2 separate regions of the Homo sapiens genome follow, and region 2 is linked to region 1. The links are contacts of gene promoters, found by promoter capture Hi-C in human tissues and cell types (Jung and others, 2019). All regions are on one chromosome and are shown on one strand. Each heading gives the region's core, a stretch centred on a gene start or on the middle of the fragment in contact. The rest is flanking DNA. Distances are from core to core; before and after follow the strand shown. Region 1 holds the start of SLC40A1 (solute carrier family 40 member 1). Region 2 overlaps COL5A2 (collagen type V alpha 2 chain).

Region 1 (3,018 bases), core at 387-2,886:
TCTTTTCCAGGACAACCTAGAAAGTCAGAGGGAAAACTGTAAATCCATTGCTGATATTCATTGGATGATTAATTTTAAGATAGCCTCCACTGCCCCAAACTTTATCTAACTATAGATAACATTTTTAAAGACCAGAATTTTTGTCACTCAGATATTTGTTCTGGGGGTCATTTATGTTTCAATTAATCTTAGAATGTTATTATTAGCTTAAGTCAGTCACTCTACCATTCTATTGTATTCTCATGGTGCTGCACGCTGGAACTAAATTTTAACAAAAAAAGAAAACAAAATATTTTAAAATGTGAAGAAGAGAAGGTATATGAGACATCCATCCATCTTTTGTAGCAGATATGTCTATTTACCAAAGCTACTAATGCAACATAAAATTTAAAAACAAGGCAAATATTCCTTTCCTTGATAATCTTGTCTGGATAGTTGTCTATCTACATAAACTACGATGATCTGATAATTAAGTTGCATTAACTAACACTCATGGGGAAAGATCTTCGATGTAAATAACGTTTTCATTAAAGCATGTGTACTTGGATGATTTATTTCTTTAACTGCTTGACAAAACTGGAAGTTGGCTTAATACAACTGGCTAGAACGAAAGGAAATAAAAAATTGCGCAACTGTGTTGTAAGACTATGCATTCTCACTTACCCAAGTAGAGAGAGAATGACCAAGGTAGAGAAGGAATTTTGCAGAGGTCAGGTAGTCGGCCAAGGATCCTGCAAAGACACAGGCGGGGTGACAAAAAGCGATGGTAGTCACTTAATGAGCTGAGGGCAGAATGCTTATCCATTTGATCTCATTAGAACATGATTATTAAAAACTACTTTGCAGGACAAACCACGTACATTTTATCAAGTTACCTATGAACCGATGTATTTCGTTCACTTAATACCATTCACTAAATTCAGTTATTGACCTAGTCAATAACTGCCCAACTTCACATTTCACATACAGTGAAGAAACTCTTGTTTCAGCATTCTTTTTTGGGTTGGTTGGTTTGTTTGTTTTGTTTCTTTTTTACACAAGGCAATCCAAACTGCCCAATCTACTCCATCCGTGCCTGTGTGCAAACCCCTTTTCCCACACCCTGAATTTCCTTTCTTCCTTAACGTCCACCAAATATGAGTCAAAGGATCTTTTTACAAAGCTATGGTTCACAGCAGAGCCACATTCCTCCAGAACTCGTGTAGAGTTGCTTGTCTCCAAAGCCCCACCTGGGTTTCCACCATATGCTTTCGGTCAACGACACTCACCACAGCATCCTCTCTGGCGGTTGTGATCTCCCGCCCTGGTCATGACACTAGGCGACCCCGCTGGCTCTTCTGCGGCTGCTATCGCTGCTGCTGCTCTCGCTGAGGTGCTTGTTAACAGGAGTGCAAGGAACTGGAGATAGCACCTCTAAAAACACAACAGCCTTGGGCAAAAAGACTACAACGACGACTTTGGCAAAGAACAAAAGAAAAGGGGCCCAGGGATTTTCTTTTTTCCTTCTTTCCAAACTTAGCTAACACTGTAGCTGAAGTTGGAAAGGCAAAGCCTTATGGAAGCGGTTTGGGAGGCTCAGCAGGTCGTCCGAGCCTAGCGGACGCCCTGAGCCAGCTCTCTCCGCCGCCGCCGCCGCCGCCGTGGGCCGGGCCCAGCTCTTATACCGAGTCGGGGGCGGAGCTCCCTGCGACCTCCGACTGGGGCCGCCCCGTCCCCTTCAGGGCCGCCCGGGCGTCCCCGCGGCGCGAGACGAGCTCCCGTCAACCTTGCGCGCCGGGCCGTCCCCGCGCCCTTGCCCGGAGGAGTCGCCCACCCCGGGCGCAAGCGTCCAACCGGCCGCAGACACCCTGCGCGGCTTGCGGGGACCTTCGCCTCGACGCGTTCCACTCCCCGGGTTTTCCTGCTCTCCGGGAAGCCGCGAGGGCAACCTCGGGGGGCGGCCGTGGGGCTGGGAAAAGGAGGAAGGCGCGTGGAGCCGGCGGGGCGGCGTAGGGAGATTCTGCGCGAAACTAAGCGTCAGGTGCTGGAAGAAAGCGCTGCGCACCGGCTACCCCGCAGTTCAGGGAAAGGGCGGCCGCCGGACGGTCGCAGTGCAAAGCTCCAGCGCGAGCTTGGTGGGTGGGGATTCCTTTTTTAACGAAAATAATTTTTAATACAGGTATCTAAATAAATATAATTCATGCCACAGAGGCCGCTTTCCTGGCCGTCCCATTCCGGCCCGCCTGCAGCAGAGAATGCCTTTCCTTCCCCGGACTGCATAGCAGGGCTTCCCTCAAAGAACCAGAATCAAAGGGCAGGAAGGGGGCGCAAAGATCAGAGTCCATCCCTCTTGAGAGGAGCAAACGGAGGCTTGCAAAGGTGAAGTCCCGCAGCGAGTTACAGACCTACCCGTATCCCCAAACTGGGGCCTCCAAATCCGTCCTGGAGACAGAATGAGGATGCTGCAGCCCCAGCAAACCCTTCACCATCATTCCTTCTCCCTCTGTACCCTCTCACCCCGCCCCCACGCGCGCGTCCCTTCCCCACCTAACCTCCAAATGCCCCAGTGACAGGCTTACCAGGAATACCGGTTATCCCAGTTGTGTCCCTGGATCTGTCCCTGTCCAGATAAAGCCATTCGGTGGCCTCCTGGAGGGTGAGGTGAATGACTAAAGAACACCAGACTCTAGCCTTGGTTGACTTCGTTTTAATCCTGCTGTGCCAAACCAACCCCTGGGGCATACCAGCCCCTTTTGCCAGTAGGTTACCTTACCCTTCTTAATCTCACGAAAACCCTGGTAGTGGATCCTACATATTGAAACTCCAACCAGATGCCACACCTTGAGCACAGGCCAGACTGACACCCAGTAGTGAAGGGAGCCACGCATGAGTATGTGCCCTGTATCTGCACTCTCAATCAGGAGCCCCAAAGGTCTACGGGGTGGGTGCAGCTGGATTCGGTTGGGATGTGGTCTGGTGAGTAGAGATAGGGGTTACAGTTTAACTACTGCTTTTCACTGCTTTTTGCCTTTTCAAGCC
Region 2 (3,278 bases), core at 445-2,944, 530 kb before region 1:
CCTTTCTTCCCCTTTTTTTTCAATATGAGGTTGAGTGTCTATCCTGTAGTGGAGTGTTTAAACATGTCATTTAATATACAAATGCCCAATGGCATATGTATTAATTATATTTAAAGCATTTGAAAATGGAGGTTCAGAAAATCTGCTTAAGATTACACAGCTAATTACTTAGGGAAACAATATTCCAAATCAAGTCTGACTGGCTCCAAAGCCCATTCTGCTACATGATGAGCTTTAATTACATCATAACAGACTTTGGAGTGGGGAGTGATTTTGCCTTCAGTGGCCCATCTCAGCAGCATGAGATGACTGTGCAACTGCCAGAAGGGACTGGGGCTTCAGAGAAAGTTGGGGACATGTTCAGTTCAGCACATTCTAATTTAAAACACATCATGGAATATACAGTGTTTAAAAAGCCACATGGCTTATATTCTCATACGGCATTCACTTTAGATGGTGAATGGAAAAATTTAGACATTACACAGCACTATTTTGGCTTTCATGCTTTTGTTAATGAGTTTAAAATTTAGAACACTTCATATATATCCTCATCCAAAGCCTTTATGTTAAACCAAAGATGGCTTCAATTTTATCTTCCTGCTCTGAAAAAATACCATCTTAATTTGTTGCATATTCAAATATCATTTCATTTACAAGATATAAAAATTATGGCTTTACAGAAACAGTTGTTATTCAGAAAAATCAGAAGTGTATTGGAACTATCAGGAAAAATGACAGTTTTTAGTGTAAATTAAAAAGATTTCAGATTTGCATGACTTTAGATTTTATAATAAGTGAAATGGCTCTTACACGTTCTCCAACAGCACCATCCCGTCCTGGGGTACCATCATTGCCAGCTGGACCCTATAAAGAATAATGGTTTGAAAAACTACTTAACTGAGTAATGAAAAAAATCCTCATTCCAATTGTCAAAAAATGACAGCATGTTTTACACCTGTGTTTTATAAACTGTCAGTTAGCATTTATGCAAATGTCAGCAGAAGAACGGTTTCTACCTCTTTTTCATTATTTTGAATTACTGTAAAATTAACATATTCTTACTTAATCCATATTCTTCATTTATATTTCTTATTTTGAAAAACAAAAAACCCACAAATATTTTGAAATAGATAACAATTACATTCTTGCCACTTTATGTTTTGCTTGTATTAACAATGAAAGGCTTTTCTTACATTTACTTCTTAAGATTATTCAAATATCCTTAAAGTTTTGAAATAAAATAACTGTTTCAATATTAAACTACTTTAAGAAATAGTCTTCCTTTTCTATTTTATTGTGATTTTTTTCATAAATATGTCTTTGCTATTTGATCAAAAATTGTTCCAAAGGCTATTGATTCTTTCTTTCAATAAAATGTTACATTAACTGTTTGATGATTCACTCCTTAAAATCCTGAACAGAGGATATTCCAGCCTTTAACTTCTCAAATTGCCTATCAAAAACTGATTTCCTCCCAAAAGTGCCTAAAGGAACATGATATCCATTATGTTACTTTATAGTGATATTTAAGTAAAATGATCTCTACTAACTTTGCCCTTTTCACAAGCTGGAATAGCTATATTAATCCTATCACCAAAAAACTTGGCAATTTTGATAAATATGTCATTACAAAATGAAATAATAACAAGGGAAAGATGAATGGATGTGTCCTTTCACCCTCAAAACAGTTTGGCAACAGCTTAAATGAACTAAAATACTTAGCTCCAGACTAGATGAAGGTCAGTGCAAAGACACCGATCCTATTACCTTTTCTTTATGTCATCACTTAGCCAACTCTCTAGGGAAGTAGAGTACATCAAATAACATTACTAAGAAACTTTCTTAAGGTCAAATATGCAATAAAATTCTAAATCAATTGCTAAATGAAAAAAATTGTTTCCATGACACCAGATAACAAGAGAAGAGTTATTTTCACTGTAGTACTCACTTCTGGTCCAGGTTCCCCTACAGGACCATTGGAGCCTGGGGGCCCCACAGGTCCAGGTGGACCTTTATCTCCTGTTGCACCAGTTGGTCCTACTTTTCCTGGTGTTCCCTGAAATAGAAGTATAAATGTCAAACACTTGTGAAGAAATTGAAGAACGCTAGTTCCCATAAAGGCTAAGTTTTCAAAATGGTGCCTCTGGGCTCCTTCTATAATAATAATTTTGCATTATCTTACAACACTCATGTAATCATAATGCTTTCTTAGAGGCCTGCCCACCTCCTATCAGACTCCTCTTGACGTATCTAAGGGACCAAAAACCAACCATCTGTTGCCACCAGCACAGGTGTGCATTTTGGGTTCTAATCATGTGTACCATAGGTGATTCTAGCTGCCCTTCTGGAATTTGCATCACTTTCATCCTTTTTCCCCGCTCTGCTTTGTCTGTTCATTTTATTTCTATATTCTGATACTTTGATCTCACTCTTGAGAGATTTTACTTTCACATTCTTGGCTCACTTCTGATAACAATAAGACATCCCTTAGCTCCTACTTTGTTGGTTTCATATTTCAACCCACATGTCTCCCAGTTCTAAGATCCCATACATCTCTCTGTCTACATTCCATATGAAAACATCATTAATTTTTTTCAAGCACTGTAATCTTTTAGCAATAAAATTTAGTCTCTTCAAAGCTAACTTTGAATCAAACTTTTATCCATACTCCAGGGAATATAAAATCCTAAAGCACCCTCCAGGGAACAGGAGATTACCTTCAGATCCTTCTTCAGCATTCCCCCTACATTCACCTCAAATATTACTTTAGCTCAACTATGTCTTCCCTTTGATGGTTTACTGTAAAATATGGTATTTTTGTTAAGCATGTTTACTTAAAAAGACACTACCTATTCACCAGAAGATTATCCCCCTCCTCTAGCTCCGGGATCTTTTTAATCTTTGAAGAAGGATTTAAAGGTCACCAAAAATCCATATCCTTATTTGCCTACTTTTCTAGTCTCAGGGTTAAACAAATATATATTTTCAAAGACTTTGTAAGGTAGTTAAGAATTTGACATTTAAGATCAAAAGATTTTTAAGAGACTCAAAAATTAATGTCCCTACAATACTGTTTAAATCTATTCATCAAGCAAAAAAAATAAAATCAATTCTCTAAACAATTTGTATTGCACATATGAGATAAAATATTGACCGATGCAGCTACTCACCGCTGGGCCTGGTAGGCCGGGCATGCCTCTCTCTCCACGTTGCCCAGGCATGCCAACAATTCCTCTCTGCCCGGTCGTTCCAGCTGGACCAGGGGGGCCATCTGGACC

What was found. The method cuts DNA at HindIII sites, captures the fragments that hold promoters and counts their contacts. A contact is called where the count stands out against the background at its distance.
Region 2: a fragment that was not itself captured here is called in contact with the fragment with the promoter of SLC40A1 in region 1 in 2 of the 25 tissues and cell types used here (aorta and thymus).

What each region holds. Positions count from the first base shown.
Region 1 is chr2:189,579,150-189,582,167 of GRCh38, forward strand. SLC40A1 (solute carrier family 40 member 1) reads right to left here and starts at 1,637. Exons shown (of 8, transcript NM_014585.6): 1 at 1,269-1,637; 2 at 664-731. The coding sequence starts at 1,311. RefSeq lists silencers at 1,591-1,650, 1,721-1,890. The HindIII fragment of the contact is 17,191 bases long and covers 1-3,018 here.
Region 2 is chr2:189,047,399-189,050,676 of GRCh38, forward strand. It overlaps COL5A2 (collagen type V alpha 2 chain), which reads right to left. Exons shown (of 54, transcript NM_000393.5): 43 at 3,171-3,278; 44 at 1,949-2,056; 45 at 811-864. Among named protein-coding and RNA genes, the nearest start is that of MIR3606, 53 kb to the left of the region's middle. The HindIII fragment of the contact is 9,231 bases long and covers 1-3,278 here.